Linked DNA regions of Homo sapiens: regions 2, 3, 4, 5, 6 and 7 are each linked to region 1. Evidence: promoter capture Hi-C in human tissues and cell types (Jung and others, 2019). All regions are on one chromosome and are shown on one strand. Each heading gives the region's core, a stretch centred on a gene start or on the middle of the fragment in contact. The rest is flanking DNA. Distances are from core to core; before and after follow the strand shown. Region 1 holds the start of UVSSA (UV stimulated scaffold protein A). Region 2 holds the start of FGFR3 (fibroblast growth factor receptor 3). Region 3 overlaps GAK (cyclin G associated kinase). Region 4 holds the start of IDUA (alpha-L-iduronidase). Region 5 overlaps SLBP (stem-loop histone mRNA binding protein). Region 6 overlaps FAM53A (family with sequence similarity 53 member A). Region 7 overlaps LOC105374343 (a long non-coding RNA gene).

Region 1 (2,795 bases), core at 187-2,686:
CTCTGGCTGCCTGAGGGTGACGGCAGAGATCCCCTCCGGCGTTTTCCTTGGAGGAAGTGAACAGAGGTGGACATACCCTAAAGGCGATGGACCAACTCGCCCATCAGCAAGCTCTATTCTTTCCCTTCGAAAAGTCCAGCAGCAAAGAAAAAGATGCACGTTTCTCTCTGAATCACATTTGTGCACTCAAGAACTCCTACAGGATGTGCTCCAGACCACACAAATGGGAATGAAGAGAAGCACCAACCACAGAGCAGTGGGGTCCCCAACGCCACACGCCCCGACCCCAGAACATGACCACCCGTCAGAGCCGGGTACTGCAGGGCCCCGAGAAAATGTCCTGGGTGTGTCCCTCGGGTGGTTCTCTCCCAGGTGGGGGCAGGAGGGCAGGGCCCTGTGTGTGTCCTGGGCTCAGTGGGCCAGTCAGTTACTGTTACTGAACCCTAAGACATACTTGCAAATTTTCTTCAGTTCCTTCATTTTCTCAGGATTTAGTCGGGGTTCTCCTGAAGTTGTGAGCTCTTCTACCAACTTCGAAAGTTTCTGATCCATATCTAGAAATAAGTAAGGCAGAGATGCTATATCACCATCTGTATTTTATAGCTCTCGGTGTTATTAACGTGTTTACTGGGTTCCACTATAAACCGAAAGCTCCGGGAGGACCCTGAGGCTGGGGTCCATCTGTGGGTGCCTCTCTGGGAAATATGTGTGTCCAGCAAGGCCTTTACGGCGGTGATTGCAGTTTTAAAAGTGAACCTTAAACTCGGGACCTCTACAATCCCGTGTGTGGGACGCTGCATTGAGGGTCGTGCGTTAAAGGAACCAGTGGCGCTGTCCGAATCAGCTTTTCCCCAACGTGACTGTTGCTGTTTCCCTTATTCACTCAGATTCCGCAGGGCAGCCTCCAGCAAGGCTGCAGAGGCCAAGAGGAGCCAAGAAATTCTGAGACCAATGAAAAGTCGCGTCCGGAGAGCAGGGGCGGCCCTAACGGAGGCAGCCTGCCCGGATACCCAGGGCCGAGCACCGCGGCGTGCCTGGTGGGATGAGGCGAGGGCCTGCCGCACCGCCAGGGAAAGGCCGAAGGACCCGGAAGGAAGCGCCAGGCGAGGCCGGGGCGGAGGCTGGGAAGCTGCGCCCTACTCGGGGAAAGAAGGGGCCCGGCAGGGCCACGCGAGGCTTGGACCGCGGGGTCGCTCTCGCACAGCGGCTGCACCGGGCGGGCGCGCCGGCTTCGACGGTGCTCGGGGGGCTGCGGCCTGTCACTCGGCCCAGGGCCCGCCCTCCGGCCCCGCCGCCGGCGCTCTCGGGCACACGGGACACGCCCTGGCCGCAGGTCTCTGCCCGGCGCCCGCAGAGCCCCGGGGACCGAACCGGCGCGACCCCCGCCCGGCAGCGTAACCACAGCCCCACCTACCGCTGACGCGGCCGCTCGCCTCGCCCCGCCCCTTCCGGCGGGGGGACCGCCCCTCTTGTCAGGTGCCCAAGACCTCTACCGCCATTGGCTGGCCCTGGGCCGGACGCATCAGGACCTGGGGTCACCACAGCGACGACTGCACCTACCGCTCGACGCGGCCTTTCTCGCCGTTGCCCCACCCTTTCCGGTCAAGGCCCCGCCCCCTAGCACGTGCCCTGAGCTCGACAGCCAATGGCTCACCCCAGCCCAGGAGGCGCAGGCGCAAAGACGCGGCCGAGGTCTGCGCGGTGACGTAGGCGCGCTCCCGGCGAGGGCGAGGCAGGCTGCCGGGGGTGGGGAGGGGGACGCACGAGAAAAAAGAGGCGGGAGGGCGCAGAAAGTCCTTAAAGGGGCCGCATGTACGGGCGCCGGGGGCGGGGCCGGCCGGGAAACTGAGGCCGAAAGGAAGTTCCGGTCTGGGCCTCAACGCCACGCCCGCCCGCGGGCTCGCAGCCAGGTCCCTTCACCTGCAGAGGGCCGGTGAGGACCGCCCAGACGGGCGGGCGCGGGCCCCCGCCCCCGAGCTCGCCCCGCGCAGGGCGCCCTGAACCCCGCGGCGCCTCCCCGCTCCGGCCTCGGGAAGGGAATCCCTGGGCGGGCTTGGGGGTCTTCGGGGCCCACCTCGGCGCCAGACGCACAGCAGGTACCCCTGGGCCCGGGCTGGCCCTGGGCGGAATGAGAAGCAGAGGCGCCGTCCGTCCTGCCGCCGAAGTCCGCAGCCTCGAACGCAGGGGAGTGCGAGGTCGGCTGCGGACGGACGGACCTGGAGACCGCGCTTGGGAAACCGTGGCTTCGGAGGAGCGTGGTGTGGACCCCACTCGCGGGGCGCCCGGCACAGGCCACGCAGAGCAGACGCCCGACTGGGCTCCCGGGGCTGGGTGCAGGGCGGGGGCCGCCGGCGGCGGGCCGGGGTTTCTTTTTCGGGGGGATGGGCGTGCCCTTGCATTACGGTGGTGGTAGCTCACAACTCTGTTAATCGTGTTTTTACAGGGTGGGTTTCAGGATGTGTGAGTTATATCTCAGTAAAGCAATTATTTTAAAAAGGAAAAGAAGAGGGACTCCCTGCGCCGCCCCTCTCTGCAGCACCAGCTTCTGTCCCTGGGCGTCAGTGGCTCCCAGCTCCTAGCTTGCAGCCAGCCCCGAGCCGCTCCTCCGCCTCACCCCTTCCTCACCCTGCCTCTTGCTTCACTGAGCAAGCTGCAGCCAGACCCTCCCTCAGCGCCCCTTGCCCTGTGCATCCAATCCCCGGCCTGTGGCTTCCTCCAAGGCACCCATCCAGCAGTTTCCCTCTGTCTTCTACAGCGTGGTTTTTTTTGTTGTTACTAGTTCTCATTAGTATAAA
Region 2 (2,795 bases), core at 87-2,586, 450 kb before region 1:
GCGCCCCTCGCTTGCCTGGAGCTCGGCGCGCACCCACGGGGAAGCGCCCTCGGCCCCCAGGCAGGGGCAGGGTCGGCAGCGGGGACGCTGGAGGCTGCTGCCTCTTCGGGCGGGCAGGGGCCGGGCTTCGCTGACGCGCACACCCACCCTTAGAAGTCCGGTCTCTCGCCTTGGCCGAAGCTGGCCACAAACTGGGGCCCGGGGGAGGGGGACGCCAACAATGGGAACTTTCCGTCTGCGCAGAACCCGAATAACAACAGCGGGAATCGTGGAAATGGGGCCCCCCGCGCCCTCCCGACAGGCCAGGGCTAGGGAGTCGCAGGGGATCGGGGCTGCGGACGCCAACCCCCAGCCTGGCTCCCCGTGGTGGCCTCGCACTTGGAGGGTAGCTGCGGCTCCGGGCGCACCACAAGTCGCCGCGCTAGCTCTGGCCGCGCTCTCCGGCAAGGAGGCAGCGGAATCCGGGCTCTAACCCCGGGGCGTCACTCACACCCGGCGGCCCCTCCGACCCGGGGCCGGTTCCCGTCCCCAACGCCTCTGCCCGCACGGGCCGGCCTCTCCCGTGCCTAGTGGGTCCCTTCTTACCTGCCGCTCGCCCCACGACGCGCTGCTCCGTCCCCAAGGACTCCGAGGAGGCGCCGGCCACGATGGCCACGGCCACGCAGAGCGCGAGGGCGCAGGCAGGGGCGCCCATGGCGGGGGCGGGGGCCGCGGCGTCCTCAGGCAGCGCGCGCGGGCATGCTGCCCCCCACGGCCCGGCGCGGGCACCGGCGGGAGGCGGGCGCCGCTCGGGAGACTACAGGAGGAGGAAGGCAGCTCGTTAGAGGGGCGGACAGGGACGAAAGCGGCGGTGGCCGGCTCCTGCGTCCCGACCCCTCCGACCCCCAGCCGCCCCGCCCGCCGCCGCCGCCGCCCAGGGCTCCCGGGCCGCCTGGCGCCGGCCGCCTCCTCCCCGCCGCGGTCCCTCCCTCCTCCCCCTTCCCTCCCTGGCTGCTGCAAAGCCCTCCCAGGGCGGCGGCGGCGGCAAACTTTCCGGAGCGGGAAGCCCGCGCCCCGGCCCGGCCCGCTGCAGGGACCTCTGTGGTTCCGCGACAGCCGCGCCCCGACCCCTCCGCGAGCACCGTTGGACCCCTCCGCGAGCCTGCCCGGCCCCAAGCACGGACCTGGCGAGCGCCGGAGCCCGGCTCGCTACGCGCGGCTCCCGCTCCGGCTCGCTGTCCGCGGGCCCAGCTCCCGCCCCGTCCCTCCGGCCGGCGGCCCGCCGGTGCGTCCGTGCGACCGGCAGAGCAGGACCGCGCGGCGCCAGCTGCCCGCGACGCCGCCGCCACCGCGCACTGAGCCTGGGCTGCCCCGCGCGCCGCAGCCAGTGGGGGACGGTCCGCGCCCCGCCCCGGCCCCGCCCCGCTCCCGCCCGGTCCCCGCCCGGCTCGCGGGGGCGCAGGGCACGCCCCCTCGGGGCGGAGCGGGGCATCCGAGGGGGCGTGGCCGGGCGGGGGCGCCCGGCGGTCTCGAGGGCGTGGGAGCCGGGGCAGGCGGGCTAGGCCCCTAGTCGCACCGCGGGGCGGCCCAGGGGGCGGCGGGCACGGGGCGCACCGAGGGCGAGGGCAGGCCTGTGTTTGCATAGCGCGCAGCTCGGGTCCCCTGGGGCTGTGCTCAGGAGCTCAGAGGGGAGGTCTCGGCGGGGGTCGGGATGTCAGGAGGCTTCGCCGAGATGCCGCGGAGCTGAACCCTGTGGTGTGAGCGGCAATTCCTCAGGTGGAGGAGGGCAGGACGGCATTCCAGGCTGAGCCTCCCGTGTGCGCCGCAGGTCTGGGGCAGCCCGGCGCGGCCTGCGTACCTGACCGGCGAGGTGCAGAGGCTGCGTTGACTGACCTGGGGCCGCACGCAGCTAAGCCGCCTGAGAGCCCCGCGCGAGGGGTCCCTACCCCCCGCCCCCCAAGGAGGACACAGGCCTGGGGCTGGCTGCCTGCCCGGCCTAGGATGAAGAGCGGGGGCTGGATACCCCTGGCTTGGGGAGCACAGCCCGGCTCTGAGGGAGGATGACAGAGAGCTGGTGGCAGAGCCTGAGCTGGCCCGAGGTTCTGGGCTCCACGGGGTGGGCTCAGAGTCCAGCTGAAGAGGGGTGGGTTCCCAGGAGGGGAAGGTGCTGCCCTGCGGGGGACGCTGGAGGTGCCTGGGTCCCCTCACCCCACATGACTGTTGGCTTCTGTGTCCACCCTCACAAGGAAAAGGCCATCTGCTCCCACCTTCAGGCAAAGCCCAAGGAGGTCCGGGGCCCATGGGAGCCAGTGAGCTGGCCGGGAGGGCCGGCCGGGTGGGCTGCGTGCCTGGCTTGTGGCTTCCAGGACTGGAGGTGCTCATCAGGAAAATGGGCGCTGAAAGCCCCTCAGTGACTGGCTGCCTGCTGACCCCACCCAGCCCATGCACAGCCCCACCATGAATCTCCCAGAGGCCAGGGTGTCCCTGGGCTGACCTCAGGGACTTGGAAGGGCCCTGCTCCCAGGAAGCCCTCATGCCCACCCCTCTGTGCCGACTCGGTGGCTCAGCACCTGTCCTTGGCCACCCTCATTTCCTGCTCTGGCCAAGCCCATGTCCCCAGACCGTCTTGGGGCCCAGGCTCACCCACCTCCAAGTGCACTGTCCAGCCCCCTCCAGTGCACAGCCCCAGGTCACTGCCAGCCAGGTCCGCTCCCAGGACACCGTTCCCCAAGGCACAGCAGCACATTGGCCCTGCTCTTTTTTTTTTTTTTTTTTTTTTTTGAGAGGGAGTCTCGCTCTGTCACCCAGGCTGGAGT
Region 3 (2,795 bases), core at 131-2,630, 430 kb after region 1:
AACGCCTTCTCTGGATTTCTGACGTATGTAAAGGGACTGTCTGGTGACAGTCTTTTCAGGGATGCGTCCCTGTTACGTACTTTGTTTCCTTTTACAGCCTGGACATACTTGTCCCTTTTGCTTCTGCTGAATCTCAGCAGCCTTGGGCACTGCAGGAGCCTTGGTCTCCAGCTTTGGGCTTCACACTCCTGTGGCCCTGCCTGCCCTGTGGCAGGGGCTGTGCTGGGGGTGACCTCATGGTGGGGTCATGCCCTCTTGGCCTCCATGTGCCAAAATAAGGGCTCTATGAATACAAGGAGTTTAAAAGCTGCTTGTAAAAAATATTTGTTGCTAGCATTTCTGTAAATAGGGGTCACTGTGGGAGGGTCTGTACTGTGCAGTTTTGTCCTGAGACGTAAGAAGGCCCCATTTGCTGTCACCACGCTGGGCACCAGGGTGGCCCCGCCTTTGAGAGTGGGCATGAGTGGGCCTGTTGTCGTGGTCTGCACGCCTGCTGCCCCCGTGTCTGCAGAGCATTGCCGCTCTTCCTTCTTGTCTGTCTCATTTTACTCTGGCCCATTTGGGGAAAGGCTCCTGCTTTTGACTTTTCTTGTGTCCTTGCATCACAAAGATCTTTTGAGGGTCTTGAACCCCCAGCACGTTTTTACAGGGGTCAGAGGTGGAGACACACGAAACGGGGGGAGCTGTATTAGACACATTGCATTGCTCTGTTGCGTGCTTATGTCTGAGATGATGCATCGGGTGGAGTAGGAAGGTAAACTTGCTTTCATCTTTTGTGTGTGCTGTTTCCTGATACAGAGGCTATTATCCAATGAAGAGGAAAAGAACAGAGCCATCATTCAAGAAGTTTGCTTCATGGTATCCTTTTCCTGGAACCAGGAGCCAGCACGGTGGCTTTGGCAGGCACAGGCCTGCGTCAAGCTGTGACCGCCAGTGGCCAAGAGGCTGCTCCGTGACGTTGTCTTTCATGTGTTAAAATCGGCTTTTTGCTTTTACCAAACCTAGTTGTAGGCGACTTCTAGGAAGAAGCAGTTTTTTCTGTTTTTTTTTTACTGCCAGGGTAATAGTAGAAGATTCAGAAGTGTTGGGAATGAAGTTGTTCCTACCCAAGAGGTCTCCCTGCCCAGTGGATGGGCTGGTTACCACAGGGGGCCCTTGCCCGGCCCGGCCCCCTCAGCTCCTCCGGAGACCTGGCTGAGAGCCGTGCAGATGGCCTGGCTCCCACAGGCCCCGATGTGGCTTCTCAGCCGCCCCTCTCGTCCCTTCTCAGGCTGTCCCAGCATGACTGGGCGGGGCATCTCCCGGCGCTGACAGAGGATCTGGGGGCTGCACTCCCTGTCCACTGCCACATGTCCCTCCTGAGCCTGGAGTCTTCGGCCCTGGCTGCCCTCAGACTCTGCCTCTCTTTCCTCTCCTAGCTCTGTTCACTCGGAGAGCCCGCCGGCTGCCTGAGTGTGGGTTCGGGTGGACACAGCCACGCCGCAGCCTCCCTGCGCACAGCCCCCTGAGGGCCCTGCCTCCTCCTGCCACGCGCGGGATGGACTTTGGTGTCGCTGTGGTCAGGTGTGTGTGGCCGGTGTGCCTGCCTTTGTCCCCGCCCTCTCCTGCAGCTCCTCCTGCCTCTGTCTGCCTTTCTCTCGGTCGTCCACTGCTCTCTCCCTCATCTTCCGCTCTGACGTCTAAAATTGTAAGGGTTCGATTCAAGTATTCTGACTTCAGTGTGTTAATATTGTCTACATTTATTTTGAAGTGCACAGAACTGTGGACATGGTTATGTACGTTCTCCTTTAACAAGACAACTGCAGAAAAAGCTTTCCGGCCACCCGAACATTGTCCAGTTTTGTTCTGCAGCGTCTATAGGAAAAGAGGAGTCAGACACGGGGCAGGCTGAGTTCCTCTTGCTCACAGAGCTCTGTAAAGGTAACGTCCTGTGAAGGCCGGCTTGGTGCCATCTAACCCAGCAGAGGCCGGCTTGATGCCTCCTAACCCAGCTGCATGGCTGTGAAACATGCCCGGCATCTTCTCTCAAGCTGTGTTGGTCTTAGCGGGAAGCGCGGGCAGCTCTCTGACAGTAGTTCTGTGAGAGGCCCACGCTGACGCCCAGTGAGCTTCCCACTGTCCCGGTGGGCCACCTGCATCGTCTCCTCGTGGAGCTGCGGGCAGCCAGAGAGCCGGGCTCCCATCCTGCCTGTCTCCAGTGGCAGCACGGGGTAGAGCGTGGTGGCCTTCCGTGAGTGGTGTTTAGCAGGGGTGGAGGAGCGTCTGTCCTTCTCAGGGCTCTGGGGTCCCTGTGGGGTGGAGCGTGGTGGCCTTCCATGAGCGGTGTTGAGCAGGGTGGAGGAGTGCTGCTGTCCGTCCTTGTCAGGGGCTCTGGGGTCCTGGCAAGGAGAAGAGAGGCCGCAGAGGTGGACAACTCCAGGTCCCTCTGTGGGTGCCCAGCCTCATCAGGGTTGAGCCCAGGAAGATGGCACAACGACTCCATGGTCCGTTTGTCAGGACAGGAAGAGAGGCCGGTGGGTTGGGGTGGTGCTTTCGGAGAGTTCTAGGGGCAGAGTGGTCTGTGTGAGTGACTGCGGGGGATGTCGTGTTGGTGTCACCGGAGCCCACGCTGACTGGCCGGAGACCTGGCCTGACCCTGCTGAGCCTCAGGCTGTGTCTGCAAAGGGGAAACAAGACCTGTGCCTCAGAGGGCGGCTCCACCCCCAGCCCTGCCTCGTGCCGATGCCCTCCAGAACTCCTGTGCCAGGTGACGAGGGGAAGTCGAGCACTCGGGGAGGCCTCAGAGCTGTGGCCTG
Region 4 (2,795 bases), core at 222-2,721, 360 kb after region 1:
ACAAGGGTCCCCCGCCATCATGCAGCCTCCAAGGTGCCAAGAGGACTCCCTATGCCCAGGCCTGCCCGGTGCCCACCCTGCTGGTAGGAGCCAGCGGCTCTGGCCAAGTGCACGAGGGTCTCTGTGTTTCCAGAAGGCCCCACACACCCAAGTGCCCCTCACACCTCGTGCCTCCCCCTCACAGGGTGGCCACCTGCACCAGCGTCAGGGCCCAGGGTGCTGTGACCGATGAGACCTCAGCTCAGCCCTCAGGTGCAGTGGCCCTACCCAGCCTGGCCAGCAGACACACACAGGGATGCTCACGGGTGCACCAGGAGCCAGGTGCGGCGCAGCCAACCCTGAGCCTGCAGGGAGACCTGCAGGAAGCCCACCGTGCCCCATGCAGGGGCTCCCTCCAGCACACAGCCCTCACCCCAGCACAGCCAGCAAGGACACGCTCTCCCCAACAGGGTGCTTCGGCGGGAGGTGGGGGAACAAGGGGTCTTCCGAGCAGCCCCCAGCCCTCCCCTCCCATCTGTGCCTCTGTAAGGGGCTCTGGGACGCCCAGACCCTGCCCGCCGCCCACCTGGTGGTGACAAGCTCCAGCAGCCAGTGGGTCCGGACCTGCTTGATGCCGCGGTGAGGGACGGCGCCCACATAGGCGAGGTTGAGCTGCTGGTCCCAGCTGAGGACGTACTGGTCAGCCTGGCTGTGTGGCAGCGGGGGGCTGGGGACAACAAAGGGGCGGCTCAGTCCCGAGCCTCAGCATGGCTGGCAGCGCGGCTGACACACACGTTCAAGCCCAGGACTGCCCGGGCGCAGGATCCAGGCGCTGCCCGTGCGTTCAGTGACTAATAAAATGACCCTTAGGGCCAGGAATGTGGGGAGGTCCCATCTTCATGGGGAACGGCAGCAGCAGTAAGACGAGGGGCCAACGCCAGCCCTGGCCCTGGCCCTGCCAGGAAGGCGGGTACCTCAGCTCTAGGTGGAAGGAATGGGACAGGCAGGCCAGGTCCCGCTGCAGGGCCGTCCACTCCCAGGGGAGACTCCTGGTTTACCTCAAAGAGCAGGATCCCGGGCATCGGCCTGGGCTGCAGGGGGCGGCCCAGGCTCACGCCCCGGCGCCCACTCAGGTGGAGGACCCACCCACAAACACGGCGGGGGGCGGGCCCGGGAGAGCCAGGGCCCCAGAGGAGGGAGCTCCGGTCTCTGAAGCTCTCACAGTGCGCAGTCAGGGGGCGCCCGAGCTCTCCCCGTGCGGCCAGGGGGTCCCGGAGGCCGCGGAGCGCTCACCAGAAGCCTGTGCTCCTCCAGAAGCGCCGCAGGGGCCACAGCGCGCGGGCCGCGTCCACATGCACCAGGTGCGGGGCCTCGGCCGGGGCCACCGGGGGCGCGGCCAGGAGCGAGGCCAGGAGCGCCAGCAGCGCGGCGCGGGGGCGCAGGGGACGCATGGCCACGCGTGCTCGGGGACTGCGGGGCTTCGGGCTGCACTGCCGGTTCCGCCTCCGGGTCGGAGTCTGGGCGCGCACCCCATGTGACCGCCGCCGCGGGGCGGGGCCTTGGTGAGGGGGCGATGGCCGGGTGGGAGGGGTTGGGTGGCCTCGGGGAGCCTCGGGGAGCCGGGAGCACGGCAGGGCTTGGAGCCCCGCTTCCTTGCGGGCCTCAGGGGCTGCTCTGAGGACCGATGACTCGGAAAGCGCTCAGAAGAACGCTTCGCCCGTTGGTGCTATGTGAGTTGAGCCATTACTGTCTTGTTTTTCTCTGTTTTTGTGTGTTTTTGAGACAGAGTCTTGCTTTGTCGCCCAGGCTGAGGTGCAGTGGCGCGATCTCAGCTCACTGCAACCTCCATCTCCGGGGCTTCAGCGATTTTCTCACCCCAGCCTCCTGAGTAAAGCGTGCGCTTTAGCAGGAAGGAGAATTACCCCAGAAGAGCACACTGGGCCCTCCTTACACTTGGCTTCAGATCCATGGATTCAACCAAGCAGACTGAAAATATTGTTTTAAAGCCAAAGCAATACGAAATAATACATATTTTAAAACAATACAGTATAACAGCTATTTACAGAGCATTTACATTGTTTTAGGGACTATAAGTAATCTTGATTTAAACTACACAGTAGGATGTGCGTAGGTAATGTGCAAATACTGTGCCATTTTATATCAAGTACTTGAGCACCTGCAAATTTTGGTATCTGGGAGGGTCCTGGAACCAATACCCCGAGGATACCATGGGACAACTGTAGTACATGTGTAGTCCATGTATGCATGTGTGAATCCAAGCAAACATTGTATAAAAATAATAATGGAAAGAACAGGCTTGGTGCGGTGGCTCACACCTGCAATCCCAGCACTTTGGAATTGCAGGCCAACACGGGAGGATCACTTGAGGCCTGGAGTTTGAAATCGGCCTGGGAGATGTACCAAGACCCCATCTGTACAAAAAAAAAATTTAGCCAGATGCGATGGTATATGCCTGTGAGGCCCAGCTACCCACGAAATTGAGGTGGGAGATTGCTTGAGCTTAGGAGTTCAAGGCTGAGACGGGCCATGATCACACCACTACATTCCAGCCTGGTTGACAAAATGAGACCCCATCTCTAAAAAAAGAAAAGAAAAAAAGAACAGTCTACTAACAAAACGAAAATACTGGACAATAATCCTCTCTAAGTTGGGAGAAGGATAATTAGAGTTACAGTGTTCTGGGTCTTTTTATTTTGGGGAGAGGGGTTAAAATATTGCTTAACATTAGGTCTTCTTATGTTGAAATTGCATTAAAAGTGATTAGCCATTTAAAAGTGAAATAGTGTGTATATATT
Region 5 (2,795 bases), core at 212-2,711, 360 kb before region 1:
AATTCTTACCCTGGAGGTTCATATTCAGATGGAGGAGTCTACACTGGCCAGATAACCTGGAGGAATGCCAGACCTGCACTTTTATTATATGGATACAGGCTTGGGACTACACAGCGGAAACACCCACCTGAGATAGCCTCAATTAGAGACTTACCTTGCAGAGCCTTCTCAGTATGACAGCGAATCCCTCTGTATGGCCAGCCAGGGGAAGCACGAGGTTGCTGGAAGTGAGTAGTTGCTCTGCACCGTCAAGCATGCACACATCTGTCTAGATGTGCCCGCGATCTGTGAAACTCGGGCTTTGTTAGAATAATGGAATTCTTTGGTGGTCGGTTTTATGAAAGGCAATATTGTCACAATCCTGTCAACATTGACATTGGTAATGACTTCAAGCTGGGACTAATGGCATAGAGACAAATTAAATACAAGATGGGAAACTCTACACTCTCTGAACTTCTTAGAGTCAACTTCATAAGCTCCAGCATCAGGCCGGATGTTGGATCAATGAGATAAGGTTAACCCATAGAAATGCCAGAACTGAAGCTGAAAACTAGATATGGGTTTTTCTGACTGCCACACACACTGCAAAAATTTGAAGCAAATCTCCCATCTTAATGACTTTATAAACACATACCAGAGATGAACGAAATAAGTTGATTTCAGCCATATGATAGCCCTGGACTACTGAAGTGTGGACACCCAAAAGGAATCATAATTTAGTTTGAAGTCTAAAATCTAGTTGGTTTTATTAGACCCCCAAACACAGTGGGCACACTGCCAAGGAGCTCCATGACTTCTGCTCTAGTAAGACAGCCCTGGATAGACAGATGCAGCTGATAGGTTATGTTCTACATCTAGTTTGCTTTTGTCCTGCTAAACTCCAGTTTAGTATGGTTTGATACACATAGTTCACTGATATAATGCTTTTATTTTTTTGGGTGGGGGACAGAGATGAGGTCTCACTATCTTGCCCATGCTGGTCTTGAACTCCTGGGTTCAAGTGATCCTCCTACCTCAGTTTCCAAAGTGCTGGTATTACAGGCACAAGCCACTGTGTCCCACCAGCCTTTGAATATTTCTTGACATACAGTTTGAAAGAAAACAAAGTATGTGTCATGGTTCAGTAGCATTTTCCTTTTATTGCAGCTTTACCACTCCTGAAGGCCCTAAACCCCGTTCCAGATGCTCTGACTGGGCAAGTGCAGTTGAAGAAGATGAAATGAGGACCAGAGTTAACAAAGAAATGGCAAGGTACACATTTTGGACCACCTTGAAGTGTTAATCTGTGGCGTTTTCAGTAACACATTAAATTTGATATTTGTCTTAGAACAGTGGTTTTCAAAGGTCTGGGCTCCAGACCAAAGGCATCAACATTTCCTGGGAACTTGTTAGAAATACAGATTCTCAGACCCTTCCCTGGGCCTGCGAATGGGGTGGGGCCTGGCCATCCTGTGAAAAGCCCTCCAGGCGGGTCCACTCTTTCAAGCTTGAAGACCACTGTCCTCTTGGTGGTAATCCTTCCAAGAGTGGAAGTAGGTGCACAATGGTGTTACTGCTGGATTGCAGGCTGGAGGACTATCAGAACTAACTTTCTTTTTTTTTTTTTTTTTTTGAGACAGTCTCGCTCTGTTGCCCGGGCTGGAGTACAGTGACAAGATCTCGGCTCACTGCAACCTCTGCCTCCCGGGTTCAAGCGATTCTCTTGCCTCAGCCTCCTGAGTAGCTGAGATTACAGGCACAGGCCACCACGCCTGGCTAATTTTTGTATTTTTTGTAGAGATGGGGTTTCACTATGTTTGTCAGGCTGGTCTTGAACTCCTGATCCGCCCACCTCGGCCTCCCAAAGTGCTGGGATTACAGGCATGAGTCACTGTGCCCGGCCTAACTATCAGGAACTTACTATAGTCATTTGTTACCACCGACCTTCTGTGTGCGGTGCTCACACAACCCAGCACAGTAGATGGAGTGCTCTCTCCAGATGAAGGAATACATTGACACTTGGCTTAGGCAACAAACAGCTCAGAAATGCCAACATACAAGGAAAGGTCTCAAACTTGGATTCTGTGAACCTCTTGCAGTTGCACACAAGATTGTTGTGTGTATCCAAGTTCTTGCAAACTAAGCTACTTCGTCTTCGTTGACTCATTACCTAATGCATCCTTAACCATGTTTAATCTCCCTTGATTATCAGTGTGTTGATCCTTTCTCTTTTGATGAGTTGTCTAACTCAAACCCAGTTGCAAGGACTGGGTTTATTCAAACCCAGTTAAAATGTGGCTCATAATTGGTTGAAGTATTTTACAAGATAATTTTAGCCAACAAGTGGCTGATAAACAGGGTCTCAAGAAAAATGTGTCTTGCGTGTCAGCCGCGGAACGATACCTAGACTACCTGTTTTCATTTTGGCAGCCAGTGATGGTATTTATATCAGCCTCCTTTGAAAAGGGACGGGAATATGTGGGAATTGGTTATTGAACATTTGGGGGAGTTATTTGTCATTTCTTCTGGTATCAAAATGTGTGGGTGGATGTATGCCTTGGTAGAAGAAATGAACTAGGAGTTCACAGATGAGAGTACCAGTGTTTTTAGTGAATTATTGCATTTATATAGGTCTTGACTTCCTCAATTATAAAATTAGAATGTTTGACTTGACTTGTATAGTTTGTGTTGCATGCACAAGTCTTAGAACAGTTCTTGCATACCGATAGCCTAGTTGCTCCCTCAAGTCACCCCTTGCCAGGGGTTATCTGCAGCTCTTATTCATGCGTATTCCACCTGTCCAGATTGTCCTGTGA
Region 6 (2,795 bases), core at 116-2,615, 300 kb before region 1:
GATTCAGTCCTCCTTCCTCTTGACCCCGGTTATTCTGCCTCAGGCCTTGATACCCTCTTCGGCTACTGAGACATCATCCTAGTTGGCTTTGTTGCCTCTAATCTCCATCTTTTTTTTTTTTTTTAAGACAGAATTTCGCTCTTTTTGCCCAGGCTGGAATGCAGTGGCACGATCTCCGGTCACTGCAACCTCCACTTCCCGGACTCAAGCAATTCTCCTGCCTCAGCCTCCCGAGTAGCTGGGGTTGCAGGCATGCACCACCACGCTTGGCTAATATTTGTATTTTTAATAGAGATAGGATTTTACCATGTTGTCCAGGCTGGTCTTGAACTTCTGACCTCAGGTGATCCGCCTGCCTCGGCCTCCCAAATTGCTGGGATTACAGATGTGAGCCACCGTGCCCGGCCCTCTCTTAATTTTTTTTTTTTTTTTTCGAGATGGAGTCTCGCTCTGTCCCAGGCTGGTGAGCAATGGAACAATGGTGTGATCTTGGCTCACTGCAACCTCTGCCTCCTGGGTCCAAGGGATTCTCCTGCCTCAGCTTCCCGAGTAGCTGGGATTATAGGTGCCCACCATCACGCCCAGCTAATTTTTGTATTTTTAGTACAGACGGGGTTTCACCACGTTGGCCAGGCTGGTCTCGAACTCCTCACCTCGTGATCCACCCGCCTCGGCCTCCCAAAGTGCTGGGATTACAGGCGTGAGCCACTGCATCTAGCCAGCTCAATCTTGATATCAATGCCCGAGTGAATTCTCTGCAATGAAGATGCGTGAGCACTGTCCTAGTCCTCTTCTTGGGACAAGCAAGCCTGAATCCAGCAGCTTCAAACTTCACACCTGTGTTAAAAAAAAAACAAAACCCGCCGGGTGTACTGGCTCACGCCTGTAATCCCAGCACCTTGGGAGGCTGAGGCGGGTGGATCATTTGAGGTCAGGAGTTCGAGACCAGCCTGGCCAACATGGTGAAACCCCGCCTCTACTAAAAATACAAAAATTTGCTGGGCATGATGGTGGGCGCCTGTAGTCCTAGCTACTTGGGAGGCTGAGTCAGGAGAATCGCTTGAACCTGGAGGCGGAGGTTGCGGTGAACTGAGATCACGCCACTGCACTCCAGCCTGGGCGACAGAGTGAGACTCTGTCTCAAAACAAAAACAAAAACAACAGAAAAAACCAAAATCAAAACCAAAAACCACCACGCCTGTGCCACCTCACAGTCAAACACCACACCTGTGCCACCTCACAGTCAAACACCACGCCTATGCCACCTCACAAACACCACACCTGTGCCACCTCACAGTCAAACACCACGCCTGTGCCACCTCACAGTCAAACACTATGCCTGTGCCACCTCACAAACACCACGCCTGTGCCACCTCACAGTCAAACGCCACGCCTTTGCCACCTCACAGTCAAACGCCACGCCTGTGCCACCTCACAGTCAAATGTCACGCCTGTGCCACCTCACAGTCAAACGCCACGCCTGTGCCACCTCACAAACACCACGCCTGTGCCACCTCACAGTCAAACACCATGACTGTGCCACCTCACAGTCAAACGCCACGCCTGTGCCACCTCACAAACACCACGCCTGTGCCACCTCACAGTCAAACGCCACGCCTGTGCCACCTCACAGTCAAACGCCACGCCTGTGCCACCTCACAGTCAAACGCCACGCCTGTGCCACCTCACAGTCAAACGCCACGCCTGTGCCACCTCACAGTCAAACGCCACGCCTGTGCCACCTCACAGTCAAACGCCACGCCTGTGCCACCTCACAAACACCACGCCTGTGCCACCTCACTGTCAAACACCACACCTGAGCCACCTCACAAACACCATGCCTGAGCCACCTCAGGGGTCCCGGAGGCCGATGGGGAGGCTCTGCTCAGGCCTCCTTGGAGCTCAGTCAGCCAGGTTGTGGTTACCTGGAGGCTTGACTGGGGCTGCAGGACCTGCTTCTAAGTTCACCCATGTGGCTTTTGGCAGGAGGCCTCATTTCTTTGCCACATGGGCCTCCCTGAGGGGCAGCCTGAGTGTGTTCACGATGTGGCAGCTTGATTTCCCATAATGAGTGACCCCAGTGGGCATGAGCGGGCCCCACAGAGCCCTGTGTGACCTGGTCCTCACCAGCTGAGATTTCGTCTGCTCCTTAACTCTGTCTAGCCCTTACTCAGTGGGAGGAGGATCGGGCTCCACTTTTTGAAGGGAGTGATTTCAAAACCGCTCTTCTCCGTAAGGAGTGTCGGTCAGAAACGGTGCTTGTGGAATGGTGTTAGCATTGATGCTGGCTCTGGTGCCTCCCACCCCTTGTGCTGGACTTTGGTTGGCCACAGACAGGTAGGGGGCTTACAGAGAGGATAGGCAGGTGCAGAGCTTTCTTTGTTCCCTTGTTTCCTTCTTTCTTTCTCTTTCCTTTTCTTTCCTCCCCTCCTCTTCCCCTTCCCCTTCCCTTTCCCTTTCCCCTTCCCCTTCCCCTTCCCTTTCCCTTTCCCCTTCCCTTTCCCCTTCCCTTTCCCCTTCCCCTTCCCCTTCCTCTTCCCTTTCCCTTTCTGTTTTGCTCTTGTTGCCCACGCTGGACTGCAGTGGCATGATCTCAGCTCAGTGCAACCTCTGCCTCCCAGATTCCAGAGATTCTCCTGCGTCAGCTTCCCAAGTGTCTGGGATTGTAGGCGCCCACCACCACACCTGGCTAATTTTTGTATTTTTAGTAGAGATGGGGTTTCACCATATTGGCCAGGCTGGTCTTGAACTCTTGGCCTCAGGTAATCCGCCTGCCTTGGCCTCACAAAGTGCTG
Region 7 (2,795 bases), core at 207-2,706, 310 kb after region 1:
GGGGTGGGTGTGTGGGTAGGTGTGTGTGTGTCAGTGTGGGGGTGGGTGGGTGTGTCAGTGTGCAGGGGTGTGTGTCGGTGGGGTGGGTGTGTGTCAGTGTGCAGAGGTGAGTGGGTGGGTGTGTGTCAGTGTGCGGGGGTGGGTTGTGTGTCGGTGTGCGGGGATGGGTGGGTGTGTGTTGGTGTGTGGGGTGGGTGTGTGGGTAGGTGTGTGTATCGGTGTGCGGGGGTGGGTGTGTGTCTGTGCGGGGGTGTGTGTCAGTGTGCAGGAGTGGGTGTCAGTGTGCAGGAGTGGGTGTGTGTCAGTGTGCGGGTGTCACTGTAGGTGTGTGTCGGTGTGGGGGGTGGATGTGTCAGTGTGTGGGGGTGGGTGTGTGTCAGTGTGCGGGGGGTGTGTTTGTGGAGGTGTGTGTGTCGGTGTGTGTGTGGGTGTGTCAGTGTGCGGGGGTGTATGTGGAGGTGTGTGTGTCGGTGTGTGTGTCGGTGTGTGTGTGGGTGTGCATGTGTAGATGTGCGTGTGTGCATGTGTGGGTGTAGGTGTGGAAGTGGGTTGGTGGGGGTTGGGTGGGGGTGGGTGTATATTTGTCTGTGTGTTGGTGTGTGGGGGTGGGTGTGTCTGTGTGTGTGTGTGTAAACTTCTGCCCAGTCCCTGCTGGGGGGCACTCTCAGACTCAGTATTTGGGGAGGCTGAGGGAGTTGAGGAGAGCAGCAGGACCCTGGACTTGGAGAACGGTTTGGAGGACGGTGGTCTTTGGTGGCTGCTCAGCTCCTTATGGCCCCAGGTGCAGGTGACTTGGTCCTGACTCCATGTTTCCTGCCAGCAGGGGAGTGTGGCCTGGTGGGTGGGGGCCCCCAGGGGAGGTAGGGCTTGCGGGAGTGTGGATACCCGGCTCCTTCGGGTGTGGCGGCACCAGTGTCCCTCCTGCCCGCTGTGCTGGTTGCTTCTCTTACTTTGCTCCCACACGGGATGTCTCCCTTTATTCTATTTTCACTTGCAGTGCTTCTGGTTTCTCCACTTTTACATCTTAGACTGAAACTTGGCAGAAAACGATGCACGATAGGATGTTTCTGAGCCAAGACCCCTTTGAGGACAGGCTGGCTGCTGATTCGAGAGCACGGCCCAGAGCATTCAAGGAGAACATCCTTGCTGTTGGGTTTGTTTTCTTTGCAGAGTGGAGCTGTGGAAGCCGACGGACACTCCTGGCTGGCTGCAGCCAGGCAGCGCAGAGGGAGGTGCGTGTTGGCAAACGTTTGTAACGCTCACTGAGCGGTGAGCAAGACGGGGCGTCGTGCTCGCCTTTTGTGAAAAGGAACAAAAGTGCTGCCGGATTCCTGGCCTGGGTGGAGCCCCATTCACATGACCCCCAGGGGCTGGGGTCACCCCCTGAGGTCCCTCCGTGGCTCCTCGCCTGCTCCGGTGGGGCTGGGGGAGGTGGCTTAGCTGAGGCTGCACCTCCGGGGGAGGAGCTGACAGGCGCCAGCACACACATGCAGGGGTGTGTGTGTGTGTGTGTGTGTGTGTGCACTCGCCAGCGCCTCCCCCCGGGGGGTGCAGCCTCAGCTAAGCACACACACACACACACCTACATGCACACATGTGCACCGACACACACACATGCACACACAGTTCTAGAATGACCACCCTCACCACCTCAAGACTGGCCATCGGAGGGGCCACACTCAGAGGCACGGCGGCTCGAGTGGCCAGCGCCAGCAGGCGGGAGCAGCAGGAGGGGAGCGGGTGCCGCCAGCCCTGCGGTGGCCGTGGGCCTGCCACCCATGAGGCCGAATTGCTCATGGAACTCATGGCCCCAGCTCCAGCCCTGTGGAACCAGCGGCCCTCCCACCCTCCACAGGGGCAGCTGAGCTTCCAAAGGCGAAGGCTGGAATCCAGTCCTTGGAACAATTTCCAGATGTTTTTGGCGTTAAAGTGCCTCCTGTGAAACTGGGGGTGCAGCCGGGCTGCCAGCCTGGGGTCTCCGGTCTACCCAGTGGGCACTTTTGTCATTTGGTCTGGCAACCATGCCACTCTGAAGAATGCTCTCTGCCCTCCAAGGAGAGCAGCCAGCCAGCGGGAGGCCTGTGCCGGGCAGTGGGCACGGGCCCTGACCCCAGCTTGGGGAGGGGCCTGGCATGGCAGGAACATCCTTACAGGCCCCAAAGCTTTAGCACAGTGGGAAGAGTGCACGGCACCTCTGAGCCTGCTCCCCAGGGGCACTAGGCCAACCAGGAGCCTGCCTGCCAGCACCCTCCGCAGCCCACCCTGCCTGGGTGGACAGACGGAGGCAGCCTGGGACCCCCTTGCCACGTGCCCCTCTGCAGTCCTGGTCACCCCATTGTTCAAGGGGTGCTAGGACCCTGAGCACTGCCCTGACCCTAGGCAGTAGGGAAGTGAGGGACACACACACGAGAACACACACGCCATCCACACACACACACACACACGAACGCACACGCCATGCACACACACAGAGCACCCACATGTGCACTTGCTCAAGTGTGCACAGACGCACGTGCATGGAAACCCCAGTACACGTGTACATCCCCACTCATGCACATGTACACACACACACACGAAACCCCAGCCCCACACACAACTACAGCACCAGGTGACACCTTTGCAGAAAAGGGATCGTGAAGCCTCAGACCCAAGTCAGGACTCAGAGCCCGGAAGCCTGTGTCTGCACCGGGCTCCCTCGCCTCCTGCCAGTGAGGCCCTGCCAGGCTGGGGAGGTGCCTGAGGGAGCGGCAGGAATGCAGAACCTGGGCACACCTGGGAGATGAGGCCTCCTACAG

What was found. Contacts are between HindIII fragments. The study calls those that stand out against the background at their distance.
Region 2: a contact is called between the fragment with the promoter of FGFR3 here and the fragment with the promoter of UVSSA in region 1, in 1 of the 25 tissues and cell types used here (liver).
Region 3: a fragment that was not itself captured here is called in contact with the fragment with the promoter of UVSSA in region 1 in 1 of the 25 tissues and cell types used here (H1 embryonic stem cells).
Region 4: a contact is called between the fragment with the promoter of IDUA here and the fragment with the promoter of UVSSA in region 1, in 1 of the 25 tissues and cell types used here (dorsolateral prefrontal cortex).
Region 5: a fragment that was not itself captured here is called in contact with the fragment with the promoter of UVSSA in region 1 in 1 of the 25 tissues and cell types used here (lymphoblastoid cells).
Region 6: a contact is called between a fragment that was not itself captured here and the fragment with the promoter of UVSSA in region 1, in 4 of the 25 tissues and cell types used here (H1 embryonic stem cells, dorsolateral prefrontal cortex, lymphoblastoid cells and 1 more).
Region 7: a contact is called between a fragment that was not itself captured here and the fragment with the promoter of UVSSA in region 1, in 2 of the 25 tissues and cell types used here (aorta and spleen).

What each region holds. Positions count from the first base shown.
Region 1 is chr4:1,345,849-1,348,643 of GRCh38, reverse strand. It overlaps UVSSA (UV stimulated scaffold protein A), which reads right to left and starts at 1,436. Exons shown (of 14, transcript NM_020894.4): 1 at 884-1,436; 2 at 455-554. The coding sequence starts at 552. RefSeq lists enhancers at 748-827, 2,673-2,795 and silencers at 1,058-1,497, 1,738-2,067, 2,288-2,377. The HindIII fragment of the contact is 13,201 bases long and covers 1-2,795 here.
Region 2 is chr4:1,791,834-1,794,628 of GRCh38, reverse strand. It overlaps FGFR3 (fibroblast growth factor receptor 3), which reads right to left and starts at 1,336. Exons shown (of 18, transcript NM_000142.5): 1 at 1,164-1,336; 2 at 586-796. The coding sequence starts at 694. RefSeq lists silencers at 1,079-1,228, 1,279-1,518. The HindIII fragment of the contact is 26,733 bases long and covers 1-2,795 here.
Region 3 is chr4:910,798-913,592 of GRCh38, reverse strand. It overlaps GAK (cyclin G associated kinase), which reads left to right. Exons shown (of 28, transcript NM_005255.4): 3 at 799-858; 4 at 1,806-1,920. Among named protein-coding and RNA genes, the nearest start is that of GAK, 20 kb to the left of the region's middle. RefSeq lists enhancers at 1-798, 799-1,704 and a silencer at 890-1,048. The HindIII fragment of the contact is 5,304 bases long and covers 1-2,795 here.
Region 4 is chr4:985,720-988,514 of GRCh38, reverse strand. It overlaps IDUA (alpha-L-iduronidase), which reads right to left and starts at 1,471. Exons shown (of 14, transcript NM_000203.5): 1 at 1,273-1,471; 2 at 566-706. The coding sequence starts at 1,430. SLC26A1 (solute carrier family 26 member 1) reads left to right here. Exons shown (of 3, transcript NM_022042.4): 3 at 1-858. RefSeq lists silencers at 1,005-1,182, 965-1,614 and an enhancer at 1,825-1,884. The HindIII fragment of the contact is 27,782 bases long and covers 1-2,795 here.
Region 5 is chr4:1,702,052-1,704,846 of GRCh38, reverse strand. SLBP (stem-loop histone mRNA binding protein) reads left to right here. Exons shown (of 8, transcript NM_006527.4): 3 at 1,147-1,251. Among named protein-coding and RNA genes, the nearest start is that of SLBP, 8.9 kb to the left of the region's middle. The HindIII fragment of the contact is 4,119 bases long and covers 1-2,795 here.
Region 6 is chr4:1,648,862-1,651,656 of GRCh38, reverse strand. All of the region lies in intron 4 of FAM53A (family with sequence similarity 53 member A), which reads left to right. Among named protein-coding and RNA genes, the nearest start is that of FAM53A, 34 kb to the left of the region's middle. The HindIII fragment of the contact is 7,179 bases long and covers 1-2,795 here.
Region 7 is chr4:1,040,160-1,042,954 of GRCh38, reverse strand. The region is part of intron 1 of LOC105374343 (a long non-coding RNA gene); the gene reads right to left. Among named protein-coding and RNA genes, the nearest start is that of FGFRL1, 30 kb to the right of the region's middle. RefSeq lists silencers at 855-1,036, 1,417-1,615. The HindIII fragment of the contact is 9,265 bases long and covers 1-2,795 here.